Linked DNA regions of Homo sapiens: all the other regions are linked to region 1. Evidence: promoter capture Hi-C in 16 types of primary human blood cells and fetal thymus (Javierre and others, 2016). All regions are on one chromosome and are shown on one strand. The core of a region is centred on a gene start or on the middle of the fragment in contact, and the rest is flanking DNA. Distances in the headings are between cores, read along the strand shown.

Region 1 (4,738 bases), core at 1,603-4,102:
GTTGTTTCTTTCTTCTTTTGTTTCTATAAATGCTGCCTAAGTGAACAGAAGGCCGATGTTACTTTACTTCAACAGATTTCCAAAAAAAGACACTAATTCCCTGAAGCACACATGCTCTTCCGCTCAAATCTAGATTCTGGGCTCAAAAGGAAATGGTATGTATAGATTTTATTTGGCTTTCTACACAAAGGGGATGTGTGGGGTAATAATGTGTGTTCACCAAGACCAGCCCCAACTATACAATCTTCTCTGCTTCATTCAACAAAGCCTAAGGAGTCCTTCAAAAGAAGGGTGAGAACGCCTGGGAGCAGATCCCTTTTCACAGATGCAGGCAGGTGGCGGCTAATCAGAAAGTGGTCTAACCCCCAAAGAAACACAAAAATAACCAAAAATTCAAAAGCAAAACCATTCCAGAATGAGATGGATTTTCACCTGAGTGGGACCCAGGCAAAAACTGCAGATCAGAAAAGAGGGGAAGAGCAGCTGTAAACAATCATGTTTTGTAAAGTTGTCCTGTGCTAAAGCAAGCGTGGGATGATCCTACCTACCTCTAGGTGGTATTTGTTACCTTAAAAAATAAAAGGCAGCTATTTTACACGGACATTTAAACACAACCAAAGTCAAACATTTGTCACCTTGTAAACACTGGAAAACAAAGTTGGCAGAAAGAAAGAAAGAAAAAAGAATGTAAAAGAAAGAAAAAGAAGTCTGAATACTGCAAATTGAGATCTACCCCCAGAAGCTGCAATTTGGCATTCGTCCTATAAAATAAGAGTCTACGTGGGAATTGAATTCAGCTAGAAAGGGTGACACACTTTGCATACTGAACAAATACAAAGTGAACAGAAATTATAACTTATTTATGAGGTTTTACAGAGTTCAAACTTGACTGAAAGTATAAAAATAAACTGTGGACTTTGTTCATTCGATTAGTCTTAGTGCCTGAAAGTATTTCTCTGAAACTGGTCTGTGCCAATCGGGTAACACCAAGTGTGGTCTTCCTGAACCTAGATTTCGTTTCTGAGCTTCCTAGATTCTTAATTTGGGGTCCTTTTGTTTGATTTTTTAACGGTTTCAGGGAACGGAGTGTCCTAGTTTGGCTGTGGGTTTAACCTTTTTGTCTCATTTTCTTACAAGTGAGTGTGCAACAAAGGGACCCTTTCTATAAACCTACAAAAAGGAGATTCCCATGTTTTATCTGTTTAGTTTTTTTTAAAGGCAAAAGACACTAGAGAAATGAGATGTGTGTGTGTGCATGTGTGTTTGTGTGTGTGCGTGCGTGTGTGTGTCTGTGGTGTTGGAAATGCTCTGGTGAAGCTGCTGTGTCACTTTTTATTTTGATCTTTGCTCGGTTCTCTTCACCCATCATGCTTTGCTCTCGTTCTCCTTTGTCTGTGTGGCGTCATTGGGGACCGTCTTGACTTCGGCTGGCGCTGGCTTCGTTTCTGTCTCCTGGCACTCTGGCTTTGCTTCTACGGGGCCCTTCCTGCAGAGAATCAGGAAAACAGAACCACTGAGACCACGGTCTGCAGACATCTCGCCCCTGCATCCAGGCCTTGGGGACAGCAGGGAGGAGGAGGGGTTCTCCAGTGACAGCACCCGGCTCCAACCTCTGCCCGTCAAATCACCTGGGAGCACTAAAAATCACCCAAGCCCGAGCTGTGTTCGCGGAAATCCTGATTTAATTGGTCCGGACACAGTGACTTTTAAAAGCACCCAAGTGACTCTAATGTGCAGCCATAGTTGAGAAGCACTGAGTCAGAAGAACGAGTCCTTTCCTCTTCCAGCCCTAAGTTGATGCCAGAGGCTGTGTTTTTACCTGGGGTGGTGGAAGGGGGCAGCAGAGGCAGCTCCTCCTCACCCTGACCAGCTGCAGTGGCAACAGCTCAGCTGGATGTAAATGCAGCCTGCTGGGCTGGGCTGGGCTCCCAGCACTGATTTCAGGGGCCCCTTTGCAACCCACTCTTGCCTGTCCCTTCCCCACCCCACCCTGTGCTGTTGCAGGATGATGCCTCTAGGGCCTGCCTGGGTAGGGTGAGAAAACACTGATGGAGGCAGCTTTTCATGGCAGCCTGGTGGGGTACTAGAGTGGGCCTGGTGGCTATGCGAGAGTTGAGGGCAGCTGAGTGGGCAGGGCTATCAGAGTCCTTTTCCCTCCCGATGCTGAGATTCAGGGCTCCTGGCGAGAGCCCCTTGCAGCCCATGGTGGCAGCATGGCAGCTTATCTGGGGAGCAGCCATAGGAGCCTCTATAAAAATCTAGGTCTGACTCTGCCTCCATCAGTTCCAGGAAAGGGAGTCGGGTCTGAGGATGCATGGGGACAGGCACAGACCCCAGCCTCAGCTGGTGCCACTGAATTTTGGCAAGACACTTACAAACCTGAAAGGTTAAGGCCTTTCTCTTGAACTTTGAGACCCAGCAGCCATTTGATGCTGGGGAGCCCCGAGTCTTCCCAGCCACTCTAAGAGCAGGAGAAGCAAGAGTGGGCTGGGGGCCGGGGTTGGGAGGGGAGGGTGAGCATCTGAGCCACAGTGTGAGGGGACCTCTGAACTGCACCCTCCCCTGCCACGGGCCTGGGGCCTACCTCTTTTCTTCCTGCACATCAGTGCCTTTCTGGTAGGGACTCAGCCTGGCACTGAATAACACACCGACTGGGGGCCCCAGGGTGGCTGATAAGGGCACCTTGGCCTTCTTAGCCTGCTTCCCAAGCTATTCTCATCAGTGGCCTGACTGCAAGGGCTCCCCCAGGGAAAACAGAAGCCGCTGCTAGGATGATAAGGATAAAACATAATTAACATGGCCTAATTAGCCAGCAGGCGGCTGCTCCTGGGGCCCAGCTGCCTGTCCTGCTCTCTCTGCCTTATCCCAGCCCCTTGGTTGACGGTCGCCTCAGAGAAGCCCTGGATGAGGCTGAAGACACATCTAACAAGGAGGACACAGCACAGCACAAATGCACACCACCACAGGACACAACCCGATGACAGCAGACAAAGAGAGGCCGTACTCGGTCTTTGCTGGCGCAGGCGAAACAGAGCTGTCTGCAGTGGAAGGAGCAAGCTCAGGGGCTTGTCCACTGGCCCCAGCGGCGGGAGCAGGAGAGCCCAGGGCTGCAAAAACATCCTTTGCAAGGTCAATATCTGGGGTCTTGAAGTTCCCTTCGTCCATTTTAAAGTCCTCGCCCTGGGAAGGGTTTGTGGTGCTGACGGAGGCAGCCTCGCTCTTCGGGCTAGCAAGGGCTGTGGCTGCCTCGGCCGGGCTCTTCGCGGCTCCGGGCTGGGTGGGCTCCGGGTCCGGGCCTTTGGTGCTGGGAGCCTCCTGCTTGGCCTGAGGGGCTTCTGTGGCAGGGGCAGCCGCTGCTGCTAGAGGACTGGCTGCCCCAGTCGGGGTGGGGACTGGTGCAGGGGTGGGCTTGCTGGCCGGAGGAGCCTTAGAGGCCTCCCCGACACCAGCAGGGGCGCTTGGGCTGAGGACAGCCCCTTGGTTAGCCAGGACACTAGAAGACAAATTGCTAGCGGCAGGGGTTGAGGTCGGGGTGTCGCTCAGGTCAACGAGGGGGGCGACCTTGGGGGCTGAAGCTGGGGCCGGGGAGGGGGCAGAGGCGCTGGGCCCCTTGGAAGGGGTGGCCTGGCCAGCCGGTACAGAGTTTGAGTCAGGCGTGGCCGTGGCCGGCGGGGCAATACTGGAGGTCAGGGTGGTGGTCTCACTGGTGGGGCTGTTCTGAGCAGTGGCAAAGGTTTCGGTGATAGTGTCAGAGTTAGTGGTGACGGTGGTGACAGAAGGCAGCATGTCCTCGACAGTGGCCGTAGTGTCGGCAGGCAGCCTGTGGGAGGACAGGAAGTAGAAGAGAATAGACAATGAAGCTGAGACGTGACAGAGAAGCGAGGAGGAGGGCTGAAGCCCAGGACAGGGACCATGGGGGTGGGGGCATGCAGTTAGGCACAGGCACGGACACAGGCCCACAGAGAGAGAAGGATGCTGAGAGGAAGCACACGCCCAGGTGGGCAGAAGAGGACACAGGAGACGACAGAGAACGTGGCGGTCTCAAAAGGGACCTGCTAGCCCTTCCCTGCTGATGTCTCTCCAGCTCTCTGCATAGAGCTCCCTTTCCCTGAAGTCCTTGCAGACCTGCCTAGGGCTTCCTGATCCCTGCCCTGGATCTCCATTCAAGGAGGGGCAGGCTTCTGTTCAGCATCCACCTGCTCTAGGCTTCCCAGGTCCCAGAGGAACTGGGCCCAGCTGTCCTGCAGGGCTCCCCAGGGCACCGATGGGAAAAGTCACGAATAAGGCAGATCACGAGTACTCAGAATGGCTCATAGGAGCTGTGGGTTCTTCCAGTCACAGATTTTGTGGTTCCCTGAAACTCCATTCCCTTTAAGCCCATAAGATCCTTGACAGCTAGGCAGGCATTACAACCACAACTGGTCTGGGGCTCCGTGGGTCCCCGAGGTTTCTGAACAGAGGAGGGGCAGAGAACTTTACCAGGTCCCCAGCTTCCCTTATCCTTTCAGGGGGAAAACACAAAACCCTAGAATTTCAAGAAATCCTAAGCAGACTCTGCTAAGCCTTTCAGTGAGATTTTGCCACCTTAAGCCATTTCCAGAATATGTGTATAACTTGAGAACAGGGGCTAGGGATCCAGGGATCCCTACTTATACAGGAGCCTTCTAAGGGTACCCACAGCCACCGAAATAGAACCAGAAATGCCTGAGGTCAGGCATTTCTCAGCCAAGCAGGTCTT
Region 2 (4,738 bases), core at 1,322-3,821, 990 kb after region 1:
GGTTGGGGACCCTCCCAGTTACAAAATCTAGACGACGTTTTCAGGTTATCCACAAATGCACAGAAACACACACCCCTGGGTCTATGAAAAGGCAACAATATGAAGTTGTGCGCTTGAAATGAGAAAGATTTCATGACAGCTCATCACCTAGCCCGGGAGTTTCTAACCTTGTCTGTTTATCATGCCCTTAATGTCTCAATGCTTTTTTTCACAGTAACCCTAGGCCTAAAGAAATACCTGACTGTTCTGTGTATTAAGTAGCTAGACCCAAGTAAGAAGTATTTCTGTCCTAACAACTAGTAGCCACTAGAAAAAATATTGCATATAAACTAGAAAAAAAAACTTATCTCATTCTTAGCCACAACTTCTCACTAACGGGATGTGTGTGCTTGTTGAGCACTGCGCAACTTCTCAGACCTTGGAATTGGATTAGACGCTGCCGCCCTCATTTCCTATTCTATATTGATTTTCCCATGGTACGTGTTTTATGTCACAGCAAATGACAAAAACTGAAAATGTAGCTTCAGAAAAATATGGTTTTATCAAAAAACATGTAGGGCAGGCTAGGCGTGGTGGCTCACACCTGTAATCCCAGCACTTTGAAAGGCCAAGGCAGGTGAATCACTTGAGGTCAGGAGTTCGAGACCAGCTCAACCAACATGGTAGTAGTAGAGAAACCCCATCTCTACTAAAAATACAAAAATTAGCTGGGCGTGGTGGCATGTGCCTGTATTCTCAGCTACTCAGGAGGCTGAGGCAGGAGAATCTCTTAAACCTGGGAGGCGGAGGTTGCAGTGAGCCAAGATCACACCACTGCACTCCAGCCTGGGCAACAGAGTGAGACACCATCTCAAGGAAAAAAAAAAAAAACTGTAGGGCAATCTAATATTGAGTCTTCAAGCTATCCTGCACTACTTAGTAGTTTGCATGGAGCCCAACAAAAGTTGAGTGTTGCCTTTGGCCTTTAAAATATCTCAAAGAGCCCCTCTGAATCCACAGCAGCTCCAAGAACACCTCAGCACAGAGTTTGGGAACATGCATGGAACTCACTCCTGCTCCTCTCCTCATCCCACACTCCCCAGGGTTCACAGTGCTCCTCCTGCAAGCATCTTCTTTCTTGCCAAATGCTTTCCCACCTCAGCACTTTGTGCCCTTGCTCTTCTCTCTGCCTGGAATGCTCTTCCTCAGGTCTCCGCAGGCCCAGCTCCTTCTTGGCCTCCAGGTCTTGGTTCAAAGACCACTGTGCTCCCTAAAGCCTCTTCAGGCCTCCCACCAAATCACTTCTATCCTATGGGCCTGTTTCCTTTTCTGTATAGCTTTTATCACTATCTGAAGTTATCCTGCTTAGTTTACTTACTTATTTTCAAGCTTCCCCACCAGAATGTGAACTTGATGAGAACAGAGACTTTTGTTCATTACTGTTTCCGCAGAACCCGCAACAATGGTTAGCAATAAGTAGACAATAAACAATTGTTCAATGAATGACTGCAGCCTCTACACTCAGCTCAGGGAGATAAAAGGTAAGAAGAATGTGCTTTACACGTGCTATCCCCTTGGATCTTCACAACACTCTTTGGAAATAGATACAAATAGACATGATTAACCCCATTTAATAGATGAGAAACTCACATTGAAAGAAGTTAAGTGTTCAAAGCTGCACAGCTGAAGTGGCAGAGCTAAGATTCAAGTTCATGTCTACTTGACTGCAAAGGCTGCTTTTCATAAAATCACATTAACATCATGTTGGATACCTTCGATACACACAATACATTTTTTTTTAAGACGGAGTTTCACCCTTGTCACCCAGGCTGAAGTGCAGTGGCACAACCTCGGCTCACTGCAACCTCCACCTCCTGGGTTCAAGCGATTCTCCTGCCTCAGCCTCCCAAGTGGCTGGGACTACAGGCATGAGCCACTACATTGGCTAATTTTTGTATTTTTAGTAGATACAGGGTTTCATCATGCTGGCCAGGCTAGTCTCAAACTCCTGACCTCAGGTAATCCACTGGCCTTGGCCTCCCAAAGTGCTGGGATTACAGGCATGAGCTACCGCACCCGGCCAACATTTATTTTTTTTAAAAAAAATGTTAACCACATTGCCTCCCATTATCCCATTATCCACCTAGAAAAGCTAATAATAACAATGGCAAAGTCAAGAAATGTAGCCAAGGGGCCAACAGAGCCCCAGAGTCCTTAGAGAAACTGGCCACATCGGCATTTCCCCACTCGAGGACTCAGCCCCTGCCTCCAGTAGAAAATAGCAGAGGTGCCCACCTGGGAAGGCCTTGCCTTTATTATTCCTCTGGCCATAGCTGGCCATACCAAGGAGACCTCTTGCAGACATATCTTCTGGCCTGGCCCATGTTACTCTGTAAACCTAATGACATGTGTAACTCTCGTTGCTGATTACAACTGCCGAGCTCCTGTTGATCATCATGACAGGTAAGAGGCAAACACACATGCAGCTGCAATCAAGGACATGATGAGCACCTACCCTGAGCTCTGGATGGCACTGGGTGCTCAGGTTGCCCACATTTTAGACAGTCGCTGATTGGAGCAAGAATTATTAGGCCACACTCATCTGCATCCCCCAGGAAATGCTGGGTTGCCTTGACCCCCTGGGAGGAGTTATGAAGGGTCCCCACAGGCTAGAGCTTGGGTGGCTGGACACTGAGTTGGAGACCCTCGTACAAAGAAAGGGAGATTAAAATTTGTTCTGTAGAGTCAAGGGACTTGTGCTTGTCAACTTCCCCTCTTCATATGGCTTTGTTTCCCCATGTTGCTTTTAAACAGGTGGTTCAGGCAGGAGAAGAAATCAGCTCTTCCCTCCTCACCCCTATACTCCCCTTGGCCTGGCCCAGCTATAACTTCTGCTTATTCAAGACTCAGTAGTGTTGGTGCTGCCTCCAGGAAGCCTGTCCTGGCCCCTGAGACCTCTCCTCTGTGCTCAGAATAACCCCCATACATCACTGGATCCTGGTACTCGCCCTGCTGCATTATAATTATCTAAGTGTGGGTCTGTCTCCCATCCGGGCTGTGAGCTGAACTGAGGTAGGAACTGTGACCCATTTACTGTCATGTCTCCAGCTAACACCATGCCTGGCACAGAGTAAGTGGAATAAATATCTGGGCTAATGGAGTTGCTGGATTACCAGACTACGTGTTCTGACAGGTAGCTGGGAAGATAGGATCATCATAGTTCTAGTCTCTGTGCTGCCGACATTCACAAGCTCTTGGAAGACCTTAGGAATCATCTAGCCCTGTGCACAGGTTCCCACATCCTGAGGTCCCTGCACCAGGAAGGGTGGTCTGCCAGAACTACAAAGGCCGAGGGAACAACTTCTCAGGAAAGCCTTGGCCACAGGCTACTCTCATTTCTGAAGGCTCTGAGCCTATCTCACTGACCATTTAGAACAAATTGTTCATGACTCAACTTCATTATCTTCTACCCCGTATAGGAGCCCCAGCCTCCTCGGCTCTGCATTAGGTCATTGTTATCGCTCCCTTGTGGGCTTGCCATGTCACCTCCACAAGCAGCAGCAAAAATCACTTGCCAGAAAAAATGTCAGAAAAGCAATTAACATGAGCCTGGGTAGCAAGAAAGAAGCAACACATAAGAACAAAGGAGATGGCTCCTCCCTGCAAAGTCTGTGATTGCCTACCAGGGAAGCCAGCTCTGGGAGACCTGGGGATTGGGCTTGAGCCATCAGCCTCTGCCCCTGGTGCTTTATTTCAGAAGCACCAGCATCCCTTTAATCATGCGCAGGAAGCTTGACTGCTGTGGGAGCCCAAAGGGACCACCTGAAGCCTGTGATGAGACGGGCTGCAGCGCAGGAGAAAGACAGAGTCTCTCCCACTGCCTACTGAGGAATGCAGCTGCTCTGCAGCTGAACTTGGAGAGGCAAGAAAGAGAACAGACATTTAGGAAATGAGAGGTGACCCAGTGTCTGAACACTGAAGGTCATGGGGAGATACAAGAGACAGAGAACAGGCTGAGCATGGTGGCTCACGCCTGTAATCCCAGCACTTTGGGAGGTGGGCAGATCACGAGGTCAAGAGATTGAGACCATCCTGGCCAACACAGTGAAACCCCGTCTCTACTAAATATACAAAAATTAGCTAGGCGTGGTGGCACATGCCTTTAATCCCAGCTACTTGGGAGGCTGAGCCAGGAGAATCCCTTGAACCCGGGAAGCAGAGCTTGCAGTGAACTGAGATCGCGCCACTGCACCCCAGCCTGGCGATAGAGCAAGACTCTGTCTCAAAAAAAAAGAGAGAACAAGGAGAGAGGGATAGACAAACAGACACAAACACAAAAGCAGAGACAAAAGTTGACAACTTTAAAAGAATTTTTAAACAGAAGGAGTTTTCACCATTAGTGAGTGAGGGGCCTCCCTGAGAGTGGGGGAGGATTATGAAATCATTACCAGAATGTTCTAGATCTCACCCCTGGAGACCACAAAGTCAGACCACGTTTACATTCAGTTCCCAAATTGTGATCATCTAAGCTCTCACCAGCTGTGGCAGCAGGTCCCGCAGCCTTCTCTGAGAGGCAGCATGGCCTCAGGGACTCAGGAGCCAGCCCTGAAGCGGAATTCCCTCTGCTGCAGCCCCCACCTCAGGCTGCCACTATGGCACCCACAAGCTCACCATCTGCAAGGCACGGCTTTCACCACCACTGCCGCTCTGGCGCCTAAGGAAGACCTGCCCTGACCCCCACTTCTCAGTCCTTACTATG
Region 3 (4,738 bases), core at 1,082-3,581, 960 kb after region 1:
GTGGGAGGTGCGTGGCGCTTGCCCCTGCCTCCTCCTCTATGTTCATGGCAGGCATCGCTTCACAATCTGGGAATCTTTCCTGCAGCTTTGCACCCCCTTACAGCCACTGCCCTACTAAGCTTCCCATTTATTCCCGTTAAATATTCCTTCCTGTATTTGTGGGAAATCATTTAAAATAATCCAGAAAAAAAAGTATAGGGGGAGATAAGTGAAGAATGGAAGCAAAAATGATAGACTCTTGATAAATGTTGAAGCCGGTGGGTATGTATGGGTTCATTATACTTTTCTCTCTACTTTTGTGTATATTTAAAAGTCCTATAATAAAAATCTAAATTAAAGTATATATACAGGCCAGGCATGGTGGCTCATGCCTGTAATCCCAGCACTTTAGGAGGCCCAAGCAGGAGGATCACTTGAGCCTAGAAGTTCAAGACCAGCCTGGGTAACATGGCAAAACCCCATCTCTACCAAAAAACAAAAACAAAACAAAATTTAAAAATTAGCCAGGCATGGTGGTGCATACCTGCAGTCCCAGCGACTCAGGAGGCTGAAGGGGGAGGATGGCTTGAGCCCAGGAGGCAGAAGTTACAGTAAGCCAAGATTGCAACACTGTACTCCAGCCTGGGTGACAGAGAGAAATGCTGCTAAAAACATATATACATATATATACATACACACACACACACATATAGTATATGTGTGTATATGCCAGTTTCTCTTCTTACCTGATATCACTTAGATATCAACTTGAATTGTAATGTGAATGAGTTTTTGCATCTTTTTTGAGAGCAAATTTTGATAGTAAAAGAACAGAATAGCTGAATTCTCAGTGAGGCAGGAGGAGGCCACCAGTTGGGAGGAAAACAAAGTCAAACATAACTGGGAGGCAACGGTTCCCAAAAATCTGGAAGGGTATTTACTTTACAAACTGTTAAGCCAGTGCTATTCAAGAACAATCAAACTGGATTAGGGAAGTTTGGTGGAGAAACTAAATGGCCATTTGCTCTCGGCATTGTTGGTTTCTGAAGTGTTAATTTTTGCTGTTGTCCACCTCTGCTTTTCACATCAAGCAGCTTGAGTGTTAGAGGCCAAGGTTTTGATTTGAGACATGAACTTTGAAAGTTTGTGGACCAGCCCCTGTTGTTTCAATGAACCCAGTTTTCAAGTTATTGACTCTATACTCTTCTCTGATCTCAAGGACACCAATGAATCTGTTTCTAGCCTCCAGTAGATTTAGAAGAATTCATTTCTCGCTCATAATTTACTGAATTATTTTCATTCAAGATTCTTAGATGAAGCCACCCTTCAAAATATTGTGACATGGGAGAAGTTGCCCAAGACCTGCTGTTTCCATTATGTCCCCCTCTAAACACTGGCTGTTCCCCCATTCAAAAGTCAATCAATAAAAATGTAATTCTACTATGGGAGCCTTAAAGCATTCAGCAATAGGAGTCTGGTTAAACAAACTGAAGTTATACACACAATGCAATATCTATGCAACCATCAAAGAGATGAATTTGATCTATAGGGGCTGAGATGAAAAGATCTCCAAGATATTTAGTATGGAGCAAAAGTCCAGTTGCCCTGGTGGACCTGAAGGGACAAGATCACCCCCTGCATAGAGAGGAAGTGTTGACCGCTAGCTAGTCACTAGAACTGAAGGTTCACCAAGCCTGCCCCTGAGCAGAAAGACAGATCGAAATGGTTGAGCACAGAATTTGTGGGCACTGGGTGAGAAGGAGGTTCTCTTAGAGTCTCTTGCTTCATTCAGAACAGCTTCAACTGATTCCTCTAACAGTCCAGGTGACTAAGTCAGGGTGGTCTCATTACAGTGATGACTGTTCCCTCTGAGTCTTTAGGTAAGAACCCCAGTTGTGATACTAGACCTCTCATTCCTTTTTCCTGCAATAACCCAGCTTCAATTCAGCTTCAGATAAATTTGAGTAAATTTCATCAGAACCGAATCTTCCTTTCAGATCCACTATCTCCAGTAGACCCACACTGCCAAGATGCACATTTTCATGAAAGCCCTAACAAGAAAGACTATTATTCTCAAGGTTGAACCCATGGATACAATAAAAAATGTGAAAGCTAAGATTCCTCCAATCAACAGGGATTGATTTTGCTGGCAAGCAACTGGAAGATGGATGCACAAATGTCTGAATATAAAATTCAAAAAAAGGCCTCTTTTGCTGTTGAGACATCATGGTGCTAAGAAGTCATCTTATAACACTCCAAAGAAGAATAAGTGTAAGAGAAAGAAGGTGAGGTTATTTGCTCTGAAATACAATAAGGTTAACGGAGATTGGCAAAATGGGTCGCCTTCTCCAAGGGTGTCCTTCCGATGGCGTCTTCATGGGCCACCTTAACCCACATTACTATGCAAGTGCTGTCTAATCCTTGCTGCAACAAACCAGAAGATAAGAACGTGTGTGTGTGTGTGTGTGTGTGTGTGTGTGTGAATACAAGACTAGAACTACTTTAACTATTGGATTTTATGCCAACATTTGAAATACAAAGATTTAGATTTTATTCTTGAAAAGGCAAAATTATGGTGATGGAGAACAGATTAGTGGTTTCCAGGGGTTACAGGTGGGGCAGGAGCATAAGGGAGTTTTTTTGGGAGTCATGAAACAGCTCTGTATCCTGATTGTGTTGGTGTGGTTCCACAAAGGTATATATGTGTTAAAACTTATAGAACTAGACATCAAACAAATTCAAGTTTACAGAATAATTTTAATTAAATTTTAAAAGGTCTTTCTGAGTAGTCAAAAAATAAACAGACCCATAGTTCTGTTTATATGAAACTAACAAGGAACGTACAGCAACTTCTTCCAGGCACTGCCAGCATCTAGATATCAGTATTCACACACTGAGGCCACTGTGTCACTTAGAGATGGCTACAAGGATGAGCTCCCAGATGACAGGGGACCAAGCCACTGGTGGAAGGACAGTGGGACAGTAACCAGCCACAAAAACCATTCCATCTTCTTACAAAGGGACATTCTCTGTGCACAGTAATTCACAGAAGACCCCCAAAGTGTGCAAAATAAAGACACCGGCAAAAGAGAAAAAGAAAATACTCAGTTTGTTCGACCTGACTAGTTAACCAGAAGAATTACCACCTCACACACACAAAAAAGTCATGCACAATGTAAGCATAATAGTCTGTTCTCTATAGATATCTGCCCAGAGTCTTCCAGTGGCTCACAGAAACCTAGAACCAACTATGGAGCTGGGAAGAAAATTGGCACACAGGGAGGAGAGTCTCATATGAGATTAAATTTCCGACTAGCACAGTATGATGGGAATATGGAGTGAAAATTAGGTTTACTTATGGGCAAGGACAGAATTGGAGATTTCTTACCCATCTGAGTTTGGGGACTGAGATTGGTGCCCCCTATCCCAACCAAACTCATGCACCGTCACTCTTGATAACCATGCAGTAACCCTCTCCTCCCCACTTCCTGGCTCCAGGAGTGACTGGGATGTGTTTTGTGCCCCCACACCACTTCCCCTTAGGCCACCAGGATTTCTGCTGCAGCTGCAAGAGTCAGTCCCCATGAATGGTGCAGGGGCCACCTCCAGCATCCTGCTGGTCTATTTGTTTCCCTCAGGGCTTTTTATCCGAAATTCCAGGATCTTAGCATGCAGGGCAGTCTGACGGCAACCCCAGAAGGCAACCTCAATGAATGGGTTAGAAATCAGAGAATAAATGCACCCACCTCCCCTCCAGAGTGAAGTGTCCAAGGAGACACTCCTGACAGATCCTCACCAGGACTGGGCCCAGTTGCCCGCCATGGCAGCCAACTCAAGACTGACTTTTCCTCCTTCCCCGCCTGGCTCATTCTGCTCCCTCACTCCCTTGCCTTGGATCACTCCACAAATAAACTCACTGCTCCTGAATCCTTGTTTCAGGCTTAGTTTTCAGGGAAACCCAAACTAAGACAAATGGCTAGATTATAGCTCTCTACTCCATCTCACTCACTCCGTGAGGTCCTAGAGCCAGCTCCTGGAACATAATTGCACATTTCCATCAAATGCCATTGGCTGGAAAAACTTCAATCCCTTAATGTCGGTAAATGGACTAAGACGTGGGCTGCGTCCCTATACCATTTCAAGAAGCCGCCACTTTCCAGTTCCAGGTGCCTCTTGTCCCCAGCCCAGGCTCCCCTCGGCCCCCAGGCTGTAACCAGCAGATCCTGACCATTCCTGTCTTCCGCCCTCATTTGTGTAATGAGCCCCAGGAGGCTGGCGCTCTGAGCATTTCAGTGCCCATTGGAGGGCTTGCAATTTCTTCACTAATTAGGCAGGTGAAAGGGCTGTGCTGAGAGGCCTTTGCTCCTGCATCTAACATCAGCGTTATGCCAAGTGGCATAGCTTTCCCCCTCCCTCCTCAGTCTGTTCAAGCCCATTGCCTCCCAGCCACAACTGCTCAGGTTAAGATACGTCAAGATGGAAAGTTGCCACTTGATTAAGATAAAAATAAAATAATCAAAATATATACCATGTTCCTCCTTTGAACAGATGGCCAGGAAGCTTGCCTCATAACATTGAACATCAAAAATGAATCAGAGGCTCACCTTCCTGCATAATCAAGAATTTGCTCACTGTTTGTACTACAGCCAGGCAGGGGTGGAGATTCTATCCACAAAGGTTGAGAAACGACAGAGAAACCATTGGTTCCATTGTGAGGCTCTCCCTAGTCTTTCCCTCAGCCTGTTGGGCAACACTGGCC
Region 4 (4,738 bases), core at 753-3,252, 760 kb after region 1:
GTTGAGTTCCTTGTAGATTCTTAATGTTAGACCTTTGTTGATGCATAGTTTGCAAATATTTTCTCCCATTCTGTGGGTTGCCTGTTTGCTGATAGTTTCTTTTGCTGTGCAGATGCTCTTTAGCTAACTTAGGTTCCACTTTTCAATTGCTTTTGAAGACTTAGTCATAAATTCTTTGCCAAGGCTAATGTCCAAAATGATATTCCCTAGGATTTTTATACTTTGAGGTCTGACATTTAATTTTTTAATTTTGTATTTATTTTTTATTCATTTTTGAGATGGAGCCTTATCTCCCAGGCTGGAATGCAATGGCATGATCTTGGCTCACTGCAACCTCCATCTCCCAGGTCCAAGCAATTCTCCTGCCTCAGCCTCCTGAGTAGCTGGGATTACAGCTCCATGCCACCACACACAGCTAATTTTTGTGTTTTTAGTAGTGACGGGGTTTCACCATGTTGGCCAGGCTGGTCTCGAACTCCTGACCCTCAGGTGATCCACCCATCTCAGCCTCCCGAAGTGCTGGGATTACAAGCACACACCATCATGCCCAGCTAAGTTTTGTATTTTTAGTAGAGATGGAGTTTCACCATGTTGACCAGGCTGGTCTTGAACTCCTGACCTCAGGTGATCCACCCACCTCGGCCTCCTAAAGTGCTGGGATTACAGGCCTGAGCCACTGTGCCCGGCCCTGAGGTCTTAAATTTAAATCTTTAATTCATCTTGAGTGAACTTTTGTATATAAAGAAAGGAAGGTGTCCAGTTTCATTCTTCTGCATAGGGCTAGCTAGTTGTCCCAACACCATTTATTAAATAGGGAGTCTTTTTTCCATTGCTTATTTTTGTTGACTTTGTCAAAGATCAGATGTTTCTAGGTGTACAGCTTTATTTGAGTTCTCTATTCTGTTTCATTGGTCTATGTGTCTGTTTTCATACCAGTACTTTGCTTTTTTGTTTATTATAAAGTACTTCACATATATTAATCCACGTAATCCTCACAATACTTTGTGCTAGTCACTATTATTTCCATTTTGTAGGTGAAAAAAACTGAGGCACAGAGAGGTTAAGTGACTTGCCCAAGGTTACTCACTTATAACTGTTAGAGCCTATACTCAAACCCAGACACATTGGCTCCAGAGTATACCCTAAAACAAATGGACCTCACTAATGTGATGAACCCTTAATAGCCCTTAAAACTTGGATAGCAATGTTTCATTGAAACTTAAGCTCAACCAGTTAATTTTAAGAGAAAAGAAAACATAGTTCAATTGGAATGAGCATTTTCTAAAGTGATAAAGTTGATGGAAAGCCATAAATTTAAATCACCTCTAATCCAACTGGTATTTTATTTGTGCTTCTGTCTGTAAGGACCTGTGTCCTGCTTCTACAGGAGAACCCACTATTCTGCTAGGAGCTGCGAAGCAGCTCCTTAGAGAACCTCAACATCCTGTTTCTCAGATGACTTCACAGTAAACATCATTGGTTGGTTTTGACTCTGAGTTTTTGTTTCCAATAAGCTTTCTTTATCATCTCATGGGAATGGAAGGTGAAGGGAAAAGAAGAACCAGAGTAAACTAACCACACACACAACACGTACACACACATATATGCACATATACAGACACACATGTGCATGCATACACAGACACACAAACACACATACACACATGCATACATGTACACACACATGCATACCTTATTTAGATGTTTATACTAACAAGGAGAGAGTTGAAGGAAAAAGTATCAAGTCTACTTATCCTTACATAAAGCCAAGAGAGACAAAGAGGCTTGCTTGGTATCTCACGGGATGGCAGAAAAAGCCAAGACTGAAAACTCCTGTCCCCATGTTCTGCAAAGAACTCCTGTCCCCAAGTGCTTCATAGAGAACGTGGTGAATCACACATTCCAGGCCTCATCCTTTGAGATTCCAATTCAGCAGTTTGGGTGGGGCCCATGCAGTTGCATTTCTGATGAGCTCCCAGATGATGCAGCTGCTGCTGGTCCACACACACCTCAATAAATAACCACTGCCCTATTCTGTCCCATTTCTCCCATCAAGGCCCACTAATTTTTTCTGGAGTGGGCTCTTTTGCCCAGCCTGGCCCAGTGGGCACAAGTGTCTGTGTTGGTTCCATTGATTGGGAAGTTCAGCTCATGGTCCTTGGTCATCCATGACCAGAACCTATTTTTAAACAGAATCCAGGAAAGGGGGCCAAATAGGCCTTCTGTTTTCACTCTTCTGCCCCACCTCCTGTCCCACCTAGCTTGAGGGTGGGGGGGGTTCTGTTTTCTAGGAGTACAAAGGAAACTGTTCTTAATTAGAACAGAACTGGAAGGACTGCCCTAATCTGGAGCAGTTTGGTTTGGTTTTCTAGTCACCTGTTTCTCAGGTCACAGGTGCCCCTGGCCTTTGCTGATACTACATTGTCTTCCTCCTCAGGACTCCCAAGGGAACTGAGACCTGTCCTCTCTCTTTCCCAGAGACAAGCTTACCACTCACCTCAGGGCTTGCCTGATCCCTCTGTCATCTTCCTGGAGCTGGGGCTTGGGGCAACCAGAGCCATGAGACTAAAACTAGATCTGTGGGCAGGGGAGGGGGGTGGGCAGAAACATCGGGAACACAGGATGGGCAAGAGTCTGGAGGCCAGTGGTGTACACTCTCACTGCAGGGAGCACCTGGATGCTGGCTGGTTTCACGCTGCACTTTGGGGCTATGGAGGACAAATTTCCTGAAAATACTTAGCTGGGTCAAGTCAAAATCATAAGTCTTCTGCAGCCCAGATTCCCCTCTTTGAGAATATGTGCCCTCCCCATCAAAGGGAGCCAGGGCTCTCGTTTTAGCCTCATTAAGGGAAGTCTCTGATAAAACTCAGATATTGGACATTGGGAACTTCATGATCTTTTCCAGTCTTATTTATAAAGAAGATCATAGGGTACCTTCATTCGCTATTGGTACAAATGGAAATTGTTCTGTTCTCTCTGAAAGAAAACACGACGCAGCATGTGAAAGACCTTTAAGTGGGTAATTCTGCTTCTAGGAGTTTGCTCTAAGGAAATAATTGGACAAGGACTGAAAGATGAATGTACAAGGATACTCATTCCAACATTATTAATAGCAAAAAAAGTAAACATCCTAAATGCGTGAATAAAAATTGGAGTTTGGTTAAATGAACCATAGGAAATACAATCACTGAAATATTATGTGACTAATAAAAATGATGTTAGACACAAGAAAATGTTCGTAATGACAATGCCACATTATAAAATGTAGTCTATAAGACAGTACATATAAAATGATATTTTTGTAAAACCGTATGTGACTGTGTGTGTGTTCTCTGGAATGAAAAGAACACTAAAAGGGCATACAACAACACGTTAAAAGCTGTTATCTTTACATGATGAGTACACAGGAAATTTCTGAATTTTTTTCCTCCTATGCTTCTTTTATGTATTATTCAAGCATCCAAGTTTCCCACCTGGAGCATACAATGGAATAAGAAAAAAAATTATAGAATAAATAAAATCACTATGAATTGTACAATTTTAGGTGTCCTGAATGAGCCATGATAAATATTTTGGGGTACAACTTTCCTATTGTTTCTGTAATCTATTTCCATATAATAAACTTAGAAGGATAATTGTAAATACAAAGATTAATCTTTTAAAATCTTGCATGCACATGTGCAGACAGGCCAGTGTACTAGTCTAAGAAAACACATCTTCAGTACATAATATACATATTCATTGGTCTCTTCACTCCTTCCATCCCCCACTCAAGCAACAAAGATTTTTTTTTCCCCACAATGTCTCCTAGCAGCCAAACACAGGCACTGCTAATGAATATTAATTGACCTAACATCTTGTGGTGATGAAACTGCACATTTCGCTGTCTCATTTGGTTGCTAGGGAACCATGTGAGACAGCCACGGGGCTCTGGGACCCAGACCTTTTAAGTACAGGGCAGGGTTAAGCTACAAATCAAAGTACTCCACCCAATGAATTGGGTATACAAGGAACTATATGTATGTATGTGATCCTGTCAGATAAACAAGAAACAAAAACATGGCAATAGGCAGTTTGGCAGTGGGCAGGCAAGCTGGTGGAGATGGGCATAGAGTCTCAGTTACTGCAGCCCCTCCCCATGGATCTCCTGCAGTCCCCTCTCTCCAGGGACCCACTGGCACCATTGTTTCTTCCTTGCCATCCTTCAAGGTCTACAGTAGAACCGCGCAGTTGGGGCTGGAGGCAGCACGGGGGAAGGGGAAGGAGAGAATGTGGTAGTTGGATGTAATTGCCCTGAAATTGTAGGCATCATTTTCTGTCATCCCAGTGCTCATATTAGATGCAAATAAGCTGATGAGTGAACCTGGCCTACCTGCAATTTTCCTTCTGCACTTGACTTTGATCTTCTTTTCTCCTCCCTTTCCCTTCTCTTCTGTCACTCAGCAAGCAGAGAACTCATGCTCATCAGTGCTGGTCTCTGGTCTGGCCACCTTGAACCCTTGCACTAAACAAAGAGCAAATTTTCCCACCTGGGCTTCTGGAAGAAAACCCTCATGGAAACTCCTCATTCCCTATGCCTCCTGCTTCTCTTTCCTCCCCAGTCTTCTCCCTTTAAGCCCTTACTTTACACCACTTTTCCTAACCATTTCCCCCTTTCCAACTGTCTAAGCACCTTCCCTATAAAATGAAGACGTCTCTGTCCTTTGGCCCCACAGGCATACCAAAGACTTTCTCTTTC
Region 5 (4,738 bases), core at 1,214-3,713, 680 kb after region 1:
CAGTCTATTGAATGAGGTTCATCCACATTAGAAAGGAAAATCTGCTTTATTCAGTCTACTGATTTAAATGTCAATCTCATCCAAAAACTCCCTCACAGAAAAACCCAGAATAATGTTTGACCAAATTTCTGGGCACCACATGGCCCAGTCAAGTTGACACATAACATTAACCATCACAGAAAGTAAAACATCAATTAGCCATCTCTAGTAAACAATGAGGCTCTAAAACCACTGTTCTTTTTAATTAACTGTACCAATAATTAAAGGGCAACAATGGTAAAACTTCAAATGAACCACATGTGAAAAGACTCATTCCACTCCCTCTCCTTTGGGAGAGAGGAAGATTCAAAAGAAGTTATAAACAAATGAAAATCTAATTTTATGCATATCCCAACCTAGTGGTATATAAGGGCTTCTCAACCCAAAGGAAGAGCCCTCGTAGCTGCGACATGAAGAAATGCCATCTACTAACATGAGAACAAGATTGCTTATAACTGGAGCAATTTTAGGACAGTTTAACCCATTATAAGCAATCCTGGAAGGCCATAGCAAAGTCAGACACAACTTGAGTGCAACCTTTCTATGTGACTGATCATAGAACATGTGCATCAGTAAGGACAAAACAACTGCTGTTCTTGGCAAAGGCCAAGACCAGAACCTCTGGGAAAATCAGGCATGAATTAATAATGACCTTTCTGCATGGCCCCAGAAAGGAGATGCCACTAATTAGAAGCAAATATAATACCATAAATGGAGGCAAAACAGAATTGAACACATTGGACAATATTATAACCAAAAGTAGTGGTCAGGATTTATGAGGATGGTAAATTGAAATGTAAGTTAGATTGGGATGCGTGTCCAGATGTAAGAGGCTCTATGATGTCTCACATCTTAAGTTTAAAGGACTTCTAGGTGCTGTTCAGTCATGAGTCCCATGTCTAGGGGATGAAAGTATCTTCTACAGGAAACAACCACCTCCTTCTCCTGTTAAGCCACTAGCCCAGAGCTCTTCTCAGTTCCCCCTAGGGCAGCTCTGTGAGGGCCTTGTACATAATGTTTCTACTGAGCAGCATGCTTCAGTGATGATGATGATGATTATGATCGCTGTTATAGTTGCTTTTCTTGTTATTAATAGCTGTAACTTAATATTTCAAAATCTGCTCAGAGCTTAGGGCATGAGATACAGCCAGTCTCCCAAGGAGGCAGCCTGGGGAAGTGAAAAGGTTTGGAAGCAGATGGGCCTCTCTACCACCTACTAGCTGCAGGACTGTAATGTGAGTTTGCTGCATTATTTTTGGATAGCCAATTCTGTTATAGAATCAAGAAAGCAAACTGGGTGGATGAAACTTAAAAGGACATACAAGCATCAGGTAATTTTGGATTCATTGTGGAAGCCAGCCGCCAAGATGACCCCAGTGGTCCTAGCTCCTTGACCCCGGTATATTCCTTTCCCAGGGTGGGCAGGGATGTTCTGCATAACCAATAGGATACTGCAGAAATGATGGTGTGAGACTTTGGAGGCCAGATCATAAAGACACTGCTCTCCCTTAGACTACTTGCCCTTGGGGAAGAGAGCTGCCATGCCATGAGGATACTCAAGTAGCCCTGCAGAGCAGTTCATGTGGTGCTACCGCCATCACCAGCTCCAACTTGCCAGCCACATCCAAGACATCTTGGAAGCAAATCCCCCAGTTCCAGTTAAGATGACAGCAGCCCTGGGTGACATTGTGACTGCAACCTCATGAGAGCCAGAACGACCCAGCCAAGCTGCTCCCAAATTCCTGACCCACAGACACTATGATAGATGGAAAATGTGAATTGTTATTTTAAGCTGCTAAGTGTTGGAGTATTTTACTATATAGCAATGGATAACTAAAGCTAGCATAGATAGAAGGCAAACAAGCAGCTTACGAGGTATAGGCAAAACCCATAGGATGTGTGAAGTGTAGATGATGAGTGAGTAAGCAGCTTGTGAGACAGGCAGAATTCATAAGATATGCTAATTATAGCTACTGAGTTAGTAACCTGTAAGACATCCTAAAGATATATACTGTAAATGGGACATATAATAAAACAAATCAGAGTGTTATCTACTAACTATAGATAGAAAGTCATAGAGATAACAAGTCATAATCATGCCATCTCTGGGCTAAAAGCTTTATCAACTCTAAATTAGGTACCCATTGATTGACACCCACAGGGTCTCATTTTGGCCCCAGGTGCTCTGTATAAGAAATGCAAATAAGGCCGGGTGCTGTGGCTCACACCTGTAATCCCAACATTTTGGGAGGCCGAGCTGTTGGATCACCTGAGGTCAGGAGTTTGAGACCAGCCTGGCCAACATGGCAAAACCCCATCTCTACTAAAAATACAAAAAATTAGCCAGTCATGGTGACGGGCACCTGTAATCCCAGCTACTTGGGAGGCTGAGGCAGGAGAATTGCTTGAACCCTGGAGGCAGAGTTTGCAGTGAGCCAAGATTGCACTGCAGCCTGGGCGACAGAGAGAGACTCTGTTTCAAAAAAGAAAGAAAGAAATGCAAATACATTCTCGACTGTTCGGAAGGCTAATTGGCAAGCTGTAGCTATAGCTAAGCAAACTTGTTTTAGCCCCCATATTCCTCCTGTCAGACAGCAAAATTATGCTTTGGCCCAAGAGATCTTTGGTGTGTATTTGGCCTTCTTGCTCAAATCTCAATTGTGATCCTCATAACCACACCATCAGCAGGGAAGGCTGATGCAGCAGAGAGAGGGAAGATACACAAGCTTATATACCCCAGGATCCAAGGAGTATGGTGCTTCCACCTGGCAGCTCCCATCTGAAGTGAGCTAACCTACCCTATCCCTCTCCCCTTGCTGTTGCTTTGGGTTTTCAACAGATTTAGTAAACTGTGAGTTTAAGCACTTTAATTTGGCCCGTGAATCCTCCTATTCTGACACCTCTGACAGAACTTATCTAGTAGAGTATGCAGAGGCCACATTGCATTAAGGTAATTTCTCACATTCCTGGAACCTTGGAAAAGCCACTTCACTACTCTGATTCTCAACCTTCCCATTTAAAAACAGGAGCTAATACTACATGCTTGACAGTGCTTTAAGAATAAATGAGACACTTGGGAGAAGAAATAATGGAGTGCCAGGCACAAGACAGGTGCTTACCAAAAAATTATTCCTTCTGTTTTAGGTGACCCTGTAACTGTCTCTAACCTCAGCCAGGTCATCCACTGAAAGAGTATTGTAATACCTACCTCACAGTTGCTCTGAGGATTAAATAAGGTAACATTTCTGAAAGTATCTAGCACAGGACCTTGGTAGATGGCCAATCCATTTAAATTTTCTGTCTTTCTTTCCTTACAAATAAAAAAAAAGTATAACAGCTGCCTCTGAGATATAATTTCAAAATTGTGGAAATCCCTCCATCCCCATCCCCAAGTCAGGTCACAACCCTCATCTACTCCCCTGCCTCCCATTCCTTTGAAGGGTTAGGGCTTTTGTTCCTTAATGGAGAATTACAACTCATCCTGGAGGAAGAAACCAAATGACTTAAATTCACCCTAAGACACAAATGACTAACAATAGATCCTTGCTCAGAGGGAAAGACTTTATTGGGAAAGGGAGGAGGGAGTAAGAAGACAGGGTTCAGAGGAAGGGCAGTCAGAAGTGAGAGTAGAGAAAGGCCTTCAAAAGGGAGGCCTGGATACAAAGTCATAACAAAGACACGCTTAGCCCTGTGGGTCTGACAGGACAGGACAGGCCAAGAGAGCCCCTCCTTCAGAGAGTCCTTCTCAAAGACAGCCTCCCTCAGCGAGAACATCCTTCAGAGAGCTGCTCCCAAGGACAGCTCCTCACTTAGAGAGCCCCCCTCAGGGAGCACCTCCCTCAGACAGCCCCTCCCTCAGACAGTCCTCCTCAAAGAGAGGCCCCCTCAGACAGCCCTTTCCTCAGACAGCCCCTCCCAAAGACAGCCTCCCTCAGGGAGAACCTCCTTCAGAGAGCCACTCCCAAAGACAGCCCCTCTCTTAGAGAGCCCCTCTCAGGGAGCACCTCCCTCAGAAAGCCCCTTCCTCAGACAGTCCCTCCGAAAAAAGCCCCTCCTCGGAGAGTCCCTTCATCCAAGAGCTCCTCTCAAACAGAGTCACTTCCTCAGACAGCCTCTCCTGAGAGCCCCTCTCACAGAGCCTATCCCTCAGAAAGCCAGTCCCTTGCAGAAGATGTGAAGCCCTTTTCAGGTGCAGGAGTCAACAACCAAGAATGGAGCGAGCATTCGAAGGAAAGGAGTTGCGACAGCAGGAACGGTTCATCTCCCCCAGAAAGGACCACCGCTCTCCTGTCCTTAGGGCTTCTCCTTGGCCTCAGGATAAGGAAGAGGATTGTAGGATTTGCCACTCAGACCAAAACTGGCCCTCCAGAGTGGATTTCAGGCTAGACCAACAGAGTCCCAGAGCACTGTGGCAGCATAGAGGGAGACTGCAGCCTGCCGTGGGAAGCACATTAGGGTTTAGAGGCAGAAGTTCTGATTTCAAATTTCAGCTTCACACCTTATCAGGGCTGTGTCCTGCACAAGTCTATAATGTGTCAGTCAGCATCACCAGAGCAAAATGGCGGTCATCACACTACTTGCAGAGCAGATTTGCCTGGCAAAGCTTAAGCCTCCCACCCCCTTCACCTCATGGTCCTGGGATCGTGGGGAGTTTCTGTGTGGAAGTGTTCTGGGGGAAGGGGAAGTCTGGCTGACAGGG
Region 6 (4,738 bases), core at 660-3,159, 650 kb after region 1:
AAATTACACGTGATATTTCCAAATTTGGGCACTGTTTACCAGAGAAAAGAGAGAAAGAGGAGACAATATTTATTTCTTAAAGAAAATCTATAGTACCTCTCCTTTCTCATCTCTTTACTAGTCAGTAGCCAAGGTAATTTCACCAGAGGTCCTACGGCAACTCTCACCAGTTCCCCTGCATGTAGATCAGAAGAGACGACTGCTCTCCACTGCTCGCTGTGCACATCTCCAGCAGCTCCCAGTGCCCCCCAAGGGTGTAGCCTCCCTGAACCCCCAGCGTGCAGAGAGAGGCAGGGCAGGGCTTGCAGATCAAGGGGATCCACTGTCCATGCTGCGAAGAGGAAGATCAAAAACGCAACAGTTCTAGGATCCCAGGCAGCAGTCTGTTATAGAACAGTCGAAAAAAATTTTTGTTTGATTATAGAGACAGAAAAGACCACCTGCTCTGAAGATGTGCAGTTTTCTTGTTAAAACTCCTCCCTGAGTCCCAAGGAGTAATTGCAGGTCCGATTCCTGCTGTCTGGGATGCTGCTCCACAGGGCCCAGTTTGGGGACTGAATCAGAGGATCCTTCTGATGGTTCCATCAGCCCAGGGGTGGCTGAGTCAACCTCTGACCTGGAACTTCTGAATTCTGACAATTCACTGTCCATCTTCCAGCAGTATCCCTGGGGGAAGAGACATTAGCTCAGGCATGAATAGTCACTCTCGGTTCATTTCCAGGCCTCCATGGTTTTATAAATGATGAAAAAGAACCTGTGTAAGAAGTGATACAGTTCTAAGAAAAGACAAGGTAAGAAAATAAGCTTAAGTTGGCTATGAAAATTGTGGTTTAGATTAGTGTCACCTCCTTGCCACTGACAAAGATTGCTAAGTTGATACTGGTGGCTCTTGCCCCTGGGAGTGATTTGCCCAGAGGAAGAAGACACCTTTATACACACGCTGGAAAACTATGCTGTTCTTGTACCTAAAGAATACAGCTGCTACCTCTACAGGTGCTCAGGCTGGGAAGCACCTTTGATCTAGGGCCTCCAGACAAGCCCTAGGAGCTGCTGTTGAAGATGGGGTCCAAGCAGACAACAGCAAGAGTAGAGACATCCAGGAAGCTGGGGGACTTCCCTGGAGGCTGATGCCAGCAGGACAAACTCTCCTGTCAGCTCCTCTTTACATGTTCAGCTTGACTTACAAGGAGAAAGAGGTCCAGTCCCTCTGAGTTTCAGTACTTCTTTTGTCCTCACATCCACTTTCTATAGGAGGGGTTCAAAATGTCAGTCTTCTTCTCTGCTTCCTGGTTCCCCACCCTCACTTCCACATCCTCATCTAAAATCTTCACTTGGACGACTTTGGTGGCTCAATGTCCTGATCATTCATAGTGGTTATTAAGCTAGTAAATTGGCAGAGGCTGGCCTTACAAAACAAAAACCCAGGACATCCAGAATTGTCCACTGGGGAGTTAGGAGGTGTTCATTAAATCTTGACATCTTTTCTGCTTTTAATGCCCCACTCCACCCCTAGGCTCACTCACAAACACAGCAAGTTTTAGCTCAGTGGGGTTGGAAATATCTTGGGTTCAGTGAAATTGCTGTGAAGTCGAGGGGTCATAGGAAAGTAGCAAGGTCCCCTTGTACTTGGAGTAAAATCCATTACTCCAGAGTGTCCTCCTAGATGAACTAGCCCCTGCTCACCTCATGACCTCACTCTTTGTGATATGGACACATTTACCGTCTTCCAGTTCCCCAAACAGGCTGATCCCTTACTCCCCTCAGGGACTTTTCTTACTGGTCGTGTCCCGTGGATGTCTGTCTTTGCATGGCCTGTGTATTAGTTTGCTAGAGCTGCCTTAATGAATTACCACAAACTGGGGGCTTAAACAAAAGAAATTTATCGTCTGAATTTGGGAGGCTGGACGTCCAAGATCAAGGTGCTGGCAGGGTTGGTTCTTTCTGAGAGCTGAAGGAGAATCTGCTTCAGGCCTCTCCCCTAGCTGCTGGGTGTTTGCTGGCCATGTTTGGTGTTCCTTGGCATATAGAAGCATCACCCCAATCTTTGCCTTCATCTTGACATCTTTGCCTGTGTTATCCCTGTGTGCACATGGGTGGCTGTGTCCAAATTTCCCTGTTTTATAAAGACACCCATCATATTGAATTAGGGGCCCACTCTACTCCAGTATGACTCCATCTTAATTAATTACAGCTGCAATGACTCTATTTTCAAATAAGGTCACACTCTGAGATCATGGAAGTTAGGGCTTCAAGATACGAATTTTGCGTGAATATAATTCAACCTATAACTGCTGGCTCCTTTTTATCCCTCAAATTATAGCAGAAACATCACATTCCCAGGTAAGCTCCTCTAACTATCCTATCCAAACCATCCACCACAAAACCCTGTTTGTCAAGCCAATCACAATTGTCAAGTTTTGATGGTTGACCCATTTGTTCCACTGTTTCCCTTGTCCACTAGACTGGAAGCTCAATTTCCAACGCATAAAGGGGGCCTGTTTGTCTTGTTTCTGCTGGACTCCCTTCCCACCCTGAAGGCACATTGAGTGATATCTGTATCCAGCACTGTGCAGTGCCCAGCCATACTGGAGCCTGAGACAAATGGAGAAATTAGTACCAATCCAGTCTTGATTGAAATTTTGAATATTTTGTGCATCAAGGATTTTTTGCATTGATTTTTTATTTTCTAAATGTTGTATTAAAATATCATTTACCTTGATTACCGAGGTGTTTGGTGCCCCCTTTTGTGCCAGAGGCAAGTGCCTCATTCGTCTAAGCTAGTCCAGGTCCTGTCTGTATCATTGGAAATGAAGAAGAAAGGAAGCAGGTTACTCAATCAGTAGGAACAGAGTGATTCTCCTCACTGTGAAAGGCAGCAGAATGACAGAGCATCCTCTTCAATGGAATTGGGTGGAAATGGACTTGAGGGAAACTGAGGCAAGCATAGGGTCTTGGAAACCTAAGTACAGCACTTCATTCCCTTAAATTTCCTGTTCCTCATGGGAACAAGCTTTGGTTTGATTTTGTTCTGAGAGCTGCACTTCCCCTCTCCCAACCCTGGCCTCAGAGCTAATCCAGGGCCCAGGACAAACATCACTTCATTTCTGCCCCAGCCTCAGCTCCCGAGAGCCACAGAGGTACCATGGTTCCTGGTGTTGTGAGGTCTCTGTTCCCTAACTATGAGGTGCTGATACACCCAGGGTGGGGCCAGGGCTTCTGAAACTCACATATCACTGAGCAGCAGTGATTCTACCAAGAATGTCTAAGGACTGTTCTGCTTCCGGGTCAGAGGGAAACCTGACACCCCAGCCTAGGGCTCTAGCTCCTCATCTAGTAACCCCATACCACCATTTTCTCCACAGAACTTCTCACATTCACCCAGCTTCCCTTTCGTGCCTTTCCTGCTCCACCTTCTTTTCTACCTTACTCTCCTCCTGTCCCTCCCCTGCAGCCAGAATGAGACATGGCACTTAAGGGACAGGTTTATTCTTCCTGTTCCCCACAAGAGTCATTTCAGAGTCAAACATCTCTCTATAACCCTGTTTCTGGGTGATAAATTACCTAGACAGACAAGAAAGTGGAATACTCTCTCCCCGGTGCTGAGCGGGGCTTCTATGCCAGTGGTGCTGGGCCGTGGGGAAGAGGATGTGTCTCTGCTGAGTCATGGTTGGAAACCAGTTCTGCAGTTTCCCAGTCACTTAGAGTCTCAGAGATGTCCACATCGCAGCCTGGGAAACTGGTTCTAGCCCAAGGTGAGCACTGAAGTAGCTCAGCAATGTGGGTGCACACTGCCTGAGGTGCAGCAGCTCTTCTAGGAGTATAGGACCTGCTTGGTCTCCTTTCCCAGAAGCACCAGTTTCTTGAGCACTCAAGGCCTGCAGCTGCACCCAGTGGGGTCTGATCCTGAGCCACTCTGGCAAATGGGCCTTCTTTTTGGAGCAAGTTACTTCTCCCACCTGGAGGGAGCTGGGCATTTAAGCAATGTTGTCTTTGAAGCCCACACTGTGTGAGAGCTAAAAGGAGAGGCATCACAGTGCCCAAGATGACGTAGAGTCAGAGACTTTCTTTACCCTCCAAAATAGGGCTTTTTTTTTTTTTTTTTTTGAGATGGAGTCTTGCTCTGTCTCCCAGGCTGGAGTGCAGTGGCCTGATCTCGGCTCACGGCTCACTTCAACCTCCATCTTCTGGATTCAAGGGATCCTCCTACCTCAGCCTCCTGAGTAGCTAGGATTACAGGCACATGCCACCACACCTGGCTAATTTTTGTATTTTTAGTAAAGACAGGGTTTCACCATGTTGGCCAGGCTGGTCTCGAACTCCTGACCTCAGGTGATCCACCCACCTCAGCCTCCCAGAGTGCTGGGATTACAGGCATGAGCCACCACGCCCAGCCTCGAAATGCAGCTTCAATGCCTCTCAAATGCAAATGACGTCACTTACCCTGAATGAGTTGTTGTAAGGGTTAAATGTGGATGTATGAAAACATGACTAAATTGCATTTGACAGGAGCTCTGAAAGCAACACACCACACTGGCATATGCAACACACACACACACACACACACACACACACACACACACACACCCCTACCTCCAAGGGAGTCAGTGGGAATGGTCATACCATAGGAGCCTAGGCCATTCAGAACCTTCCACCCAAAGCTCAACCCAATTTCTAAGATGCCCAGGGACTTCCTTCTTGTCCCCTCCTGCATCCATGGAGATGGTAACTGTGATCGTGG

The links. The method cuts DNA at HindIII sites, captures the fragments that hold promoters and counts their contacts. A CHiCAGO score of 5 or more calls a contact.
Region 2: a fragment that was not itself captured here is called in contact with the fragment with the promoter of NCAM1-AS1 in region 1 in 4 of 17 cell types (total CD4 T cells, endothelial precursors, naive B cells and 1 more); the score reaches 9.4 in total CD4 T cells.
Region 3: a contact is called between a fragment that was not itself captured here and the fragment with the promoter of NCAM1-AS1 in region 1, in 4 of 17 cell types (total B cells, monocytes, naive CD8 T cells and 1 more). The highest score is 12.1, in total B cells.
Region 4: a fragment that was not itself captured here is called in contact with the fragment with the promoter of NCAM1-AS1 in region 1 in 1 of 17 cell types (endothelial precursors); the score reaches 5.6 in endothelial precursors.
Region 5: a contact is called between a fragment that was not itself captured here and the fragment with the promoter of NCAM1-AS1 in region 1, in 5 of 17 cell types (M0 macrophages, M2 macrophages, endothelial precursors and 2 more). The highest score is 9.3, in M0 macrophages.
Region 6: a fragment that was not itself captured here is called in contact with the fragment with the promoter of NCAM1-AS1 in region 1 in 1 of 17 cell types (M1 macrophages); the score reaches 5.2 in M1 macrophages.

What each region holds. Positions count from the first base shown.
Region 1 is chr11:113,272,015-113,276,752 of GRCh38, reverse strand. It overlaps NCAM1-AS1 (NCAM1 antisense RNA 1), which reads left to right and starts at 2,852. Exons shown (of 3, transcript NR_034101.1): 1 at 2,852-3,129. NCAM1 (neural cell adhesion molecule 1) reads right to left here. Exons shown (of 20, transcript NM_181351.5): 20 at 1-1,486. The coding sequence ends at 1,366. The HindIII fragment of the contact is 7,964 bases long and covers 1-4,738 here.
Region 2 is chr11:112,284,941-112,289,678 of GRCh38, reverse strand. The region is part of intron 1 of LINC02762 (long intergenic non-protein coding RNA 2762); the gene reads right to left. Among named protein-coding and RNA genes, the nearest start is that of LINC02762, 17 kb to the right of the region's middle. The HindIII fragment of the contact is 2,402 bases long and covers 1,371-3,772 here.
Region 3 is chr11:112,310,534-112,315,271 of GRCh38, reverse strand. The region is part of intron 2 of LINC02762 (long intergenic non-protein coding RNA 2762); the gene reads right to left. Among named protein-coding and RNA genes, the nearest start is that of LINC02762, 42 kb to the right of the region's middle. The HindIII fragment of the contact is 4,420 bases long and covers 122-4,541 here.
Region 4 is chr11:112,513,670-112,518,407 of GRCh38, reverse strand. All of the region lies in intron 2 of LINC02763 (long intergenic non-protein coding RNA 2763), which reads right to left. Among named protein-coding and RNA genes, the nearest start is that of LINC02763, 34 kb to the right of the region's middle. The HindIII fragment of the contact is 971 bases long and covers 1,517-2,487 here.
Region 5 is chr11:112,589,910-112,594,647 of GRCh38, reverse strand. No RefSeq gene overlaps it. Among named protein-coding and RNA genes, the nearest start is that of LINC02764, 36 kb to the right of the region's middle. The HindIII fragment of the contact is 609 bases long and covers 2,159-2,767 here.
Region 6 is chr11:112,619,742-112,624,479 of GRCh38, reverse strand. It overlaps LOC124902757 (a long non-coding RNA gene), which reads right to left and starts at 2,976. Exons shown (of 2, transcript XR_007062892.1): 1 at 2,715-2,976; 2 at 1-666. RefSeq lists an enhancer at 3,350-3,399. The HindIII fragment of the contact is 2,206 bases long and covers 807-3,012 here.